3 separate regions of the Homo sapiens genome follow, and all the other regions are linked to region 1. The links are contacts of gene promoters, found by promoter capture Hi-C in blood cells and fetal thymus (Javierre and others, 2016). All regions are on one chromosome and are shown on one strand. The core of a region is centred on a gene start or on the middle of the fragment in contact, and the rest is flanking DNA. Distances in the headings are between cores, read along the strand shown. Region 1 holds the start of TNFRSF10A (TNF receptor superfamily member 10a). Region 2 has its middle 7.6 kb from the start of LOXL2. Region 3 has its middle 12 kb from the start of TNFRSF10B.

The links. The method cuts DNA at HindIII sites, captures the fragments that hold promoters and counts their contacts. A CHiCAGO score of 5 or more calls a contact.
Region 2: a fragment that was not itself captured here is called in contact with the fragment with the promoter of TNFRSF10A in region 1 in 1 of 17 cell types (M1 macrophages); the score reaches 5.3 in M1 macrophages.
Region 3: a contact is called between a fragment that was not itself captured here and the fragment with the promoter of TNFRSF10A in region 1, in 1 of 17 cell types (total CD8 T cells). The highest score is 5.9, in total CD8 T cells.

The regions. Positions count from the first base shown.
Region 1 is chr8:23,223,368-23,226,880 of GRCh38, reverse strand. It overlaps TNFRSF10A (TNF receptor superfamily member 10a), which reads left to right and starts at 1,779. Exons shown (of 10, transcript NM_003844.4): 1 at 1,779-2,125. The coding sequence starts at 1,820. TNFRSF10A-DT (TNFRSF10A divergent transcript) reads right to left here and starts at 1,660. Exons shown (of 3, transcript NR_033928.1): 1 at 758-1,660. RefSeq lists an enhancer at 1,387-1,526, silencers at 1,578-1,769, 1,937-2,186, promoters at 1,169-1,822, 17-1,822, 1,251-2,287 and a cis regulatory region at 2,208-2,287. The HindIII fragment of the contact is 5,488 bases long and covers 1-3,513 here.
Region 2 is chr8:23,409,918-23,413,430 of GRCh38, reverse strand. No RefSeq gene overlaps it. Among named protein-coding and RNA genes, the nearest start is that of LOXL2, 7.6 kb to the right of the region's middle. RefSeq lists an enhancer at 2,816-2,935 and a silencer at 2,801-3,095. The HindIII fragment of the contact is 932 bases long and covers 1,042-1,973 here.
Region 3 is chr8:23,079,606-23,083,118 of GRCh38, reverse strand. It overlaps the pseudogene TNFRSF10B-AS1. Among named protein-coding and RNA genes, the nearest start is that of TNFRSF10B, 12 kb to the right of the region's middle. The HindIII fragment of the contact is 3,866 bases long and covers 1-3,513 here.

The DNA of each region.
Region 1 (3,513 bases), core at 530-3,029:
ATCTAAATAAATAAATTTCATGGATTGAAAGACTCAAAATTGTTAAAATGTCAATTATTCTCATTCATCTCTACATTCAATGCAATCCCAATTAAAATTCCAGTAGGCTTTTTTAACTGAAAAAAATTATTCTATATTTAATATATACGGAAATGCAAACCATTTGGGAGGTGGGTAGTAGGGGGAGGACTTGAACTGCCTGATTTCAAGACTGACTATACAGCTCATAATTAGGACAATGTGGTAATTAGCATGAGAATAGCCAAATAAATAAACGGAACAGAATAGAGTCCGGAAATGGACACATACATATATATGGTCAATTTAATTTCAACAAAAGTGATAAGGCTATTGGATAAGGAAAAAAAGTCTTTTTTTTTTTTTTTTTTGAGACGGAGTTTCCCTCTTGTGGCCCAGGCTGGAGCGCAATGGCTCCATCTCGGCTCCCCGCAGCCTCTGCCTCCCGGGTTCAAGCGATTCTCCTGCCTCAGTCTCCCGAGTGGCTGGGATTACAGGCATCCGCCACCACGCCCCGCTAATTTTGTATTTTTAGTAGAGGCTGCGTTTCTCCATGTCGGTCAGGCTGGTCTCGAACTCCTGACCTCAGGTGATCCGCCCGCCTCGGCCTCCCAAAGTGCTGGGATTACAGGCGTGAGCCACCGCGCCCGGTCGAAAAGAGTCTTTTCAACAAATGGTACCGGAACACCATTAAAATATGGAGAAAAATGAACATCAATCAGCGCCCCCTTTCTCTTACCCACTCCTCAGCCCCAAGGTCGCCCTGGGAGTTCTTCGCAGGCAGGACCGTGACTCGCGTGGCTTTCGGGAGGCTGATTACCCACGCCCCATGCCCGTGCAGCGCTGGGTGCAGAGGAACCGCTGGAAGGACCTGTCCCCCGTGGGACCCCCACCAAGTCTCATCCCGTGTCATGTGCCAGATAGTCTCCCGTGGTTTAAGGACTTTCAAGACTCTTAACAGGTTAGGAAAATCCAGAAGAAAGGCAGAATTGGGTCCCTCGGGCTTGCCTGACACCAGGGACGGTGGAGTTGAGGTGACATTTCACTGGCATGGAGACCTGAAACCAAAAGCAGGATGAGCCGGGCACGGTGGCTCACGCTTGTAATCCCAGCACTTTGTAAGGCCGAAGCGGGCGGATCACGAGATCAGGAGCTCGAGACCAGCCTGGCCAAAACAGTGAAACCCCCGTCTCTACTAAAAATAGAAAAAAAATTAGCCGGACGTGGTGGCGGGCACCTGTAATCCCAGTTACTCAGGAGGCTGAGGCAGGAAAATCGCTTGAACCTGGGAGGCGGAGGTTGCAGTGAGCCGAGATCGTGCCACTGCACTCCAGCCTGGGCGACAGAGCTTGACTCCATCTCAAAAAAAAAAAAAAAAAAAAAAGGCAGGCTGAATCACTCGCCCGGTAGTGACGGAGGAGGCCGTAAAAGCCTCTTAGAGGCCAGACCCCGCAGTGGCCTCTGTGTCCTTCATTCCGCCACCCATCCGTCCACCGAGCGCCTGCTGGGTGCCAGGAACTGGGTCACAGAAAGGCTGAGGTCAACTCCCGACCGAGAAGCCTGGCGCTGGGACCAAGTGGCAAAACGACTCCGAATGCAGCGGCATCCACGCGGCGGCCGTGGTTGAGGAACAGAAGCTGAGAGCGGCAAGGGCGGTCACAGAGGAAGGAAGTTCAGGGTTAGCCAACAGGAGCCGCAGGTGCCCCGAAAAGGGGGCGGGGTCAGGGGTGCCCTGAACTCCGAATGCGAAGTTCTGTCTTGTCATAGCCAAGCACGCTGCTTCTTGGATTGACCTGGCAGGATGGCGCCACCACCAGCTAGAGTACATCTAGGTGCGTTCCTGGCAGTGACTCCGAATCCCGGGAGCGCAGCGAGTGGGACAGAGGCAGCCGCGGCCACACCCAGCAAAGTGTGGGGCTCTTCCGCGGGGAGGATTGAACCACGAGGCGGGGGCCGAGGAGCGCTCCCTACCTCCATGGGACAGCACGGACCCAGTGCCCGGGCCCGGGCAGGGCGCGCCCCAGGACCCAGGCCGGCGCGGGAAGCCAGCCCTCGGCTCCGGGTCCACAAGACCTTCAAGTTTGTCGTCGTCGGGGTCCTGCTGCAGGTGAGTCCCCACCGCGGTCCTGCCTGGGGAAAAGCGCGCCTGGCACCGGGAGGGGGCAGAGAGAGAGGGGGACGCGGCGGGGGTGCCTGGCCCGGGTCACTTGTGGCGGGGCATGTCCGGGCAGGAGGAGCCCGTCGTCGGAGTCGGAGGAAGAACGGGGTCCCCGGGGCCAGGCAGGAGCGACCCGGGCCTGGAGGCAGCAGAGCCCCCTCCCGCAGGAGGCTGGGCCCGGGGACTCCACCCCGTTGGCTGCTGCCTGGCGCGTCTCCCTCCTGCCCACACCTCACGATGTATCGGGAAGTTTCGGAATCGATAGAGCTCAAGTGTGTAAACTTCCAAGCCAACTCCCAGCCACACCAGCTGCGTGAAGGGGAGCGCCATTCTCCCCACTCCCTGATTCCCTCCCCACCCCCGTCCTTCTTTTCTTCTCTTCTTTTTTTTTTTTTTTTTTTTTTTGAAACGGAGTCTCTCTCTGTCGCCCAGGCTGGAGTGTAGTGGCGCGATCTCGGCTCACTGCAAGCTCCGCCTTCCTGGTTCAAGCGATTCTCCTGCCTCAGCCTCCCGAGTAGCTGGGAGTACAGGCTCCTGCCACCACGCCCGGCTAATTTTTTGTATTTTTAGTAGTCACGGGGTTTCACTGTGTTAGCCAAATCCGCCCGCCTCGGCCTCCCAAAGTGCTGGGATTACAGGCGTGAGCCACCGCGCCCGGCCCTCCATCCTTCTTTTCTTAGACAAATTGGTTAAACACGCAGCCCGGCAGGAAAAAGTAACTTTCTCTCCTCTGCTCGTTGTCTTCCGTTTCGAGTCCACTGAGCACACCGGCAGCAGTTTCCTTCCAGCCACTTTCTTGCGCATCAACAGGTACAGGGCAGCGAATTGACCACCACGAGGCAGGCAGCCAGGAGCGGGGCACGCCCTTCCTTCAGGAGGCAGCGTTTCCTGTGAAAGCAATCACTCAGTCTGGAAAAATGCCAATGCCTTCAGTTCTCTTTCAAGTTCATTAAGGCTCTACCAATTGTTCTCATCCAGATTCCTTCTATGTTAAGGAAAAACAAAACGAAAGCTAAGTACCTGAAGGATAAACCAGTCTTACAAGTGTCAGGAAATTTTACGTGTTTTTGTTTAACAAACTAAACAAAATCCAGGAATCCAATAGCATTTTGAAATCTCCAAATAATTACAGAATTTATGTTTTAAACGTCAGTTTATGTTAGGTGGAACCCACGTTTGACTCTTATTTTTAATACGCTTATTAAATGGCTTTCTTTTTGACAGGCTAGTGCGATTCCAGGTGGATGTAGGGCTCACCTGTATAGACAAGGTGAAACATCTGAATTTGGTGGTTTTGGAAATGTCACAGTCCGTTGGTGTGGCTATAAAAGAATACT
Region 2 (3,513 bases), core at 258-2,757, 190 kb before region 1:
ATCTAAAACTGCTCTTAAAATTTTTAAAGAATCATAACTAGAAAAAAGCTGTCAATTTGAAGCTAACAAGTCACGTCCATGTAAATTAGTTTCAAACTGAGTGGCACTTGCTGTCTGCCAGGCATTGGGCTCTGAGCACTTCACACGCATACATTCATTTCAGCCTTACAAGAATCCTATGAGGTCCCTCCCTATTTTACAGGTGAGAAAACTGAGGCCCAGTGAAGTTAAATAACTTGCTCAGTTATGGTTAGTAAGTGGTGGAGCTGCGATTCAAACCCAGGCAGTGTTGCTCCAGCTACTATACTCTAAACCACATATTACCCCGCATTACTCTTCCCCAAACTTTTCATTTTATTTTATTTCTTTTTTTTTTTTTTTTTTTTTTTGAGACAGAGTCTGGCTCTGTCACCCAGGCTGGAGTGCAGTGACGCGATCTTGGCTCACTGCAAGCTCCGCCTCCCGGGTTCACGCAATTCTCCTGCCTCAGCCTCTGGAGTAGCTGGGTCTACAGGTGCCCGCCAACATGCCTGGCTAATGTTTTGTATTTTTAGTAGAAATGGGGTTTCACCGTGTTAGCCAGGATGGTCTTGATCTCCTGACCTCGTGATCCGCCCATCTCGGCCTCCCAAAGTGCTGGGATTACAGGCGTGAGCCACCGCACCCAGCCTATTTCATTTATTTATTTAGAGATAGGATCTTGCTACGTTGCCCAGGCTGGAGTGCAATGGCATCATCATAGTTCACTGCAGTCTTCACCTCCTGGGATCAAGCTATCCTCCCATCTCAGCCTCCCAAAGTGCTGGGATTACATACAGGCATGAGCCATCAAGCCTGGACCAAACTTTTCATTTTGAAAGAGGATAGAAAAGGGGCACCCAAGGGACTAATTTTTAAAATCAACTTTATTATGGAGTAATTTACCTAAAATAAAGTCACCCATTTTAAGTGTTCAGTTTCATGAGTTTGGGACAAACACATATGCTAATATAAACACCACCACAATCAAGGAATAGGCCATTTCCATCACTACAGAAAGCTTCCTCATGCTCCTTCCCAGGCCACCTCACCCACCTCCAGCCTCAGGCCACCAGTGATCTGCTTTCAGTCCCTGCTGTTTAGTTTAGACTTTTCTAGAGTTTTCTAGAGTTATGACTGGATCATACAGTATGTCTCCTTTTTGTGGCTGGCTTTTTTGTGCATGTCAGAGTTGGGGGCAGGCATCCTGATATGTTTGAGATTCAACCATACTGTTTGCTATGGTTTGAATGTGTCCGCCAGAGTTCATGTGTTGGAAACTTAACCCCCAGTGCATCAGAGCTGGGTGTTGGGGTCTGATAAGAGGTGACTAGGTCATGACAGCTCTGTCCTCATGAATGAATTAATGTTATTTCAAGAGTGGGCTTTTTGTAAAGGGGACTCTGGCCCCCTCTTGCTCTCTTGCTTGCTCTCCCTTCCAAGTGCCATGCCCTTGGACTTCCCAGCCTCCAGAACCATGAGTCAAATATATTTCTGTTCATTTTAAATTACCAAGTCTGTGGTATTCTGTTATAGCAACAGAAAATGGACTAAAACAGTGTTGCATGTATTGGTAGTTCACTCAAAGGAACTAATTTCTAATTGCAAGATTTCAGATATGTTAATCCCCAGGAGAGGAAAGCACACTTTTTTTATTATTATTATGACTAGGACCTTCCCAGGCTGCTTGAGTTGTACTGATCCTGGTCCCACTTCAAAGCAGGGGAGGCACTGAGTGACATCACCCTGAACTGGACCCCAAATGGGCTCCAAGCACAGGAAGTTGTTGGAGGGATTGAGTCACTCCCAACTCAAGCGGGTGATGGAAAGGGCAAGTTAGTCATGTAACCTGGTCTCATGGAATGCTTCTCCCTCCCAGACTGAATTTCCTTCTTTGCTGAATACACAGGACTGCCCTGCATAGCCTTCTTCATTAGAGAAAGCTATGAGAAGCTTTGAGCTCCTCCAAGTAAACTGTTTCATACTCTCAAACAGGCTGTTAATGATGATGATTAATAATAAATTAAGCAAAAGAAGGCCAGGTGCAGTGGCTCATGCTTGTAATCCCAGCACTTTGGGAGGCCGAGGCAGGTCAATCACTTGAGGTCAGGAGTTAGAGACCAGCCTGACCAACATGGTGAAACCCCATGTCTACTAAAAATACACACACACACACACACACACACACACACACACACACACACACACACAAATTAGCTGAGCGTGGTGACGCACGCCTGTAATCCCAGCTACTCAGGAAGCTGAGGCAGGAGAATGGCTTGAAGCCAGGAGGTGGAGGTTTCAGTGAGCCGAGATTGCATCACTGCACTCCAGCCTGGGCAACAAGAGTGAAACTCTGTCTTAAAAAATATATGTAATAACAATAATAATAATAAAGTAAGCAAAAGAAAAGGAAAGGGATGAAGTTAGCACACTGTGGTTGACAGAATAATTTTACATCCTAGAAAATAGATTAAATGAAATTACACTTTTCAATGTAAAAACGTTGTGTTTCCTGGGAAAAAGGCAGATGCGTCCTAACCACTCCTGATTGCATACATATGCAATTTACAATTGTACTTTCTGAGCAGATTTGGAACTCTCCTGGGGCTTAGCTGACTTGGTCTGGGTCTGGTCTCAGCACCCCTGCTAAAGCCTCCTAGGGAAGGTGCTCGGGTTGACAGCTCTCTGGGCCTCTGGTTCCATGTCTGTAAACAAGATGCTTGGAGCACAATTTCTCAAGTTACCTGGCGGCTCTTTAGATCTTAACCCTTTAAATCTCTAGAATTTTAGGGTTTCAACCCCATTGGTATAGCTTGGCCCTGAAGAGAGCAAGCGCACATTGCCGTGTGAGAGACAGACCACTAAGGGGCGCTGCTTCCTCGGAGGAGGCGGGAGTTCTCCTCCTCCTCCGCATTCTCTCCTCTGATGAAACCACACTCATCAAAAGTGGTTGTGACAGAATGCTCAGATTTGGAATGATGAGAAACACGGAAGCCACATCATAGGACCTGATAGATATCTGGCCAACACAGGAACACTGGAATATGTGATCTATGTGACCATCCCCTTCCCAAGGCCAGATCGAACACCCACCCCTTGACATATACCAACGTTAATTGCTTAATGACACGAGGAAATACATTCTGAAAAATTCGTCATTAGGCGATTTTGTCATTGTGCAAACATCACAGAATGTACTTATGCAACCCTAGGTGATATAGCTTACTACACTCCTAGGGTATATGGGATAGACTGTTGCTCCTGCACTACAGATTTGTATAGCATATGACTGTTCTGAATACTGCAGGCATTTGTAACACAGTGGTAAGTATTTGGGTATCTAAACATATCTAAACATAGAAAAGATACAATTTAAAAAAATGATAAGGCCAGGCACGGTGGCTCACGCCTGTAATCCCAGCATTTTGGGAGGCCGAGGTGGGCGGATCACGAAGTCAGGAGATCGAGACCATCCTGGCTAACACGGTGAAA
Region 3 (3,513 bases), core at 470-2,969, 140 kb after region 1:
GAGAGGATGGAAGTGCAAAGACCAGAAAGGCTACCCCCTCCTAAAACTCCATGGACACAACACTGAATGTGCCTAAATCTTCAGGCAATTCTAACTTTGTCCCAGCCAAACCAGTCCCGGAACAAGACAAAACACATGGCTTGAGATGGAAAAGACCAAAATCCCTTGAACGACTACATCCATAATTTATCCTACCACTACTGGACTGCTATGGAGAAGAGTTTGCTGGAAAGAGGCTAAAATGATTACTGAAGTTTTTAAATAAAATAATAGAGCGTGACACAAGGACAAAGCCTTAATGTGTCAGCCATTCTAGGTCCTGTTGTCACAGTGTTTAAGAATTGATATTTCTGAGATGAGTCAGATGCTGCAGCTCAGGAATCTTTACCGTAAAATGCAGCTCAGGGGCTCAGGGTCACAGACCACCAGAAGCGAGAGGGGCCCATCCACTCCTGAGTCAGCAATCATTTCACACCATTCCCAGGCACCGTCCACTCTTCCCTCTTGATGCCATAGCAGATGCCGGGGCAGATAAACACCTGCTCTGCCCTGAGCCCAAAGAAGGCCCAAGATTCACTAATGTTCAGCTGTAATGGCACTTGAAAGAGAAGCTATTTGTAGTCCCAGATCTAACCTAATTCTCACTGTCCTCATCTGCTGTGGACAAGGACGAAGATGCAGTCCCATGACTGTCCCAGCAGGACAGACCAGACACATGGCTTCCCAAAGATACCAGGCTCTTCAAAATCCTGGGCATATGTAAACATCTACTTATAAATAAATATTTGTTTATTTGTAAATAAATACCTCTATATACCTCTAAAATCATCAACTAAGACAGACCGGCCCCTTGAGAAGTTGCCAGTCATCAAACCCTGGTCCAGTCTCTGGGCGTAGGAGGGAGAACTGGAATGTAGTCAGTGCCTCCCACAGAGGGAGGATTTCTCCTCCCATTGCTAGTTGTGTATGTAGTCATTTTTGACTGCTGATTTGCACCAGGCAGCCCATGTAAACAGCCTAATAAATACATTTCCTAAAATTTTTCCATGCTTACATCAACATGCACGAAAATAGGAAAACAGAAAAATGTACATCATATAGTATTACACAATACAGATGTTTCTCTACTTAAGATGGGGGTAAGCCCCAATAATCCTATCTTAAAGCCGAAAAATCTAAATTGAACCATTATAAGTCCACATGCTCATGACTTAGCATGGGGCTATGTCTTGATAATCTCATCGTAAGTTGAAAAGATCCACATTTAAAACGCATGTAATACCCAGATAAACCAGATATAAAGTTAAAAAACTCTAAGTCAAACCACCGTGGTATTACACCATCTTTAGTTGGATGTCATTAAATGCACATACCACTATAGAAGGAGCTTACAATATAAGAAAGTTTTTTCTCATGTGACTTCTCTCATGAAAAGGACTTCTGTCATGATGAACTGAAAAAAAAATGACATCCTAAAACTACCCTTAATACACAATCGTATAACTCTATGCCACCAACATCTTATATAAATTTCCACAGTTTGCTTATCACACACAATATTTCATAAAAATTACTCCAAGTGCGTTGACAAAGTTCTAGGACCTTTGGTAAGCTGCACCATATTGATAGCAGAGTTTGTTGAGGCATGGGTCAAGTACTGGACTCTTTCTTCCAGGCTGCTTCCCTTTGTAGGAGAAAAGGTAAACGAGGGAAGCTCTGGTTTCCTGAAGGGATTCTTTCACAGGCAGGACGTAGCAGAGCCTGCATTCACCTTCCTCATAGAAGAGATTTTTGGAGCCCACCAGTTGGTCCTGAATTATTTCCTTTGCATGTCTTTCTTTCAGTGTTTGAGGCCTCCAGCAAGGTGTTGACTGAGAAGAAGAGGAAAGAGAGGGATTTAGGGTCTTCATGCTCCAAAGATCATCAGCACAGGATCGGCATAGGACCCCCTACTTCCAGCAGGGAATGCTCCAGAAGAGCACTCTCAGCTATGGGGCTAGCAGTTAGGACATCGTCCCTATTGCCTCCATTCCTTCTACATCTCCAGGCACAAAACACTTACTCTCAGTGGGGTCAGCGCCATTCACTGGAACCAGCAGCCTCCTCCCATGACCCTTTCAGCTTTTGCCTGTTCCTGTAACACACAGTGGGGAATGCTCTGGTCAGAGTCAGGAATCCTGCAGTCTAGTACTGACCCCGATCACCAGCCAGCAAGAGACCTACAGAGCTTCCCCTCTCAGGTCTCTGTGGAGATGGAGACAAACCTCTGGTCCTGCATAGCTCTTGGGCTCTGTGTGCTGGTGACTCATTGAAACAAAAGTGACAGGGAGTAAATGCTCACTTCATAAGTGTTCTGCCCAACTTTGACTACTGTATACACCTGTGTAATAATCCTATGATCAAGACATAGAACATTGCCACACCCCAGAAAGTCCCTTTCTTCCCCATCTCATCAATTTCCACCCACCCTCACAGGAGAGAATCACTTCATTACAGAATTTTTACCAACAGAAGTCTCAACAGAGGACTATGTATGAGAGCGCTCAGGAAACATCTAACAAAAGAATTTATTCCAAGACTCCAAAAGTTCTTTGATCATCAATACTGTACCATATCAACAATCTAAATAAGGAAATAAAGCATCAGTCTCTATGGAGGCTGAAAAGACATTTGGTGAAATTAAACACCAATTCTGAATTTTTGGAACCCCTTTAGAATAGGAGGCTGCATTCTTGATGATGTGAATTTCTTTCTATATGAAACCAAAAGTGAACACCATTCCTAAAGGTGGCATGTTAGAGGCCTTCCCCGGAAATCAAATCAGGACCCAAACACCTGCCTTCCCTAAGCGCAGCTGAACATGGTTCTGAAATTTCTGGCCTGTGCAACAAGATGGAAAACAAAAATGAGGCAAGATTCTTGGAAGTGGGCAGACACAATAATCATTATATTCAATGTCACTTAAAAACCCTAAGAATGGGGCCGACCAGGCACAGTGGCTCACGCCTGTAATCCCAGCACTTTGGGAGGCCGAAGCAGGTGGATCACGAGGTCAGGAGATTGAGACCATCCTTGCTAACACGGTGAAACCCCGTCTCTACTAAAAATACAAAAAAAAAAAAAAAAAACTAGCCAGGCATGGTGGCACATGCCTGTAGTCCCAGTTACTCGGGAGGCTGAGGCAGGAGAATCGCTTGAACTCAGGAGGCGGAGGTTGCAGTGAGCCGAGATTGCACCACTGCACTCCAGCCTGGGCGACACAGCCAGACTCTGTCAAAAACAAACAAACAGAAACAAACAACCCTAAGAATGAAACTATGATATGGAAATATAAATGTATGTCTGAAGGAATGTTAAAAACATAGTAGATGCAATAAATTAGCAAACAGAATTACAAGGCTATGCAACTTATAACGATTACAAAATACCAAACAGCCATGAAAAGAAATAGGAATAAATTTATCTGAAGAGGAAAACAAATCACAACTCAGTTATAATAAAATACTTGACTTC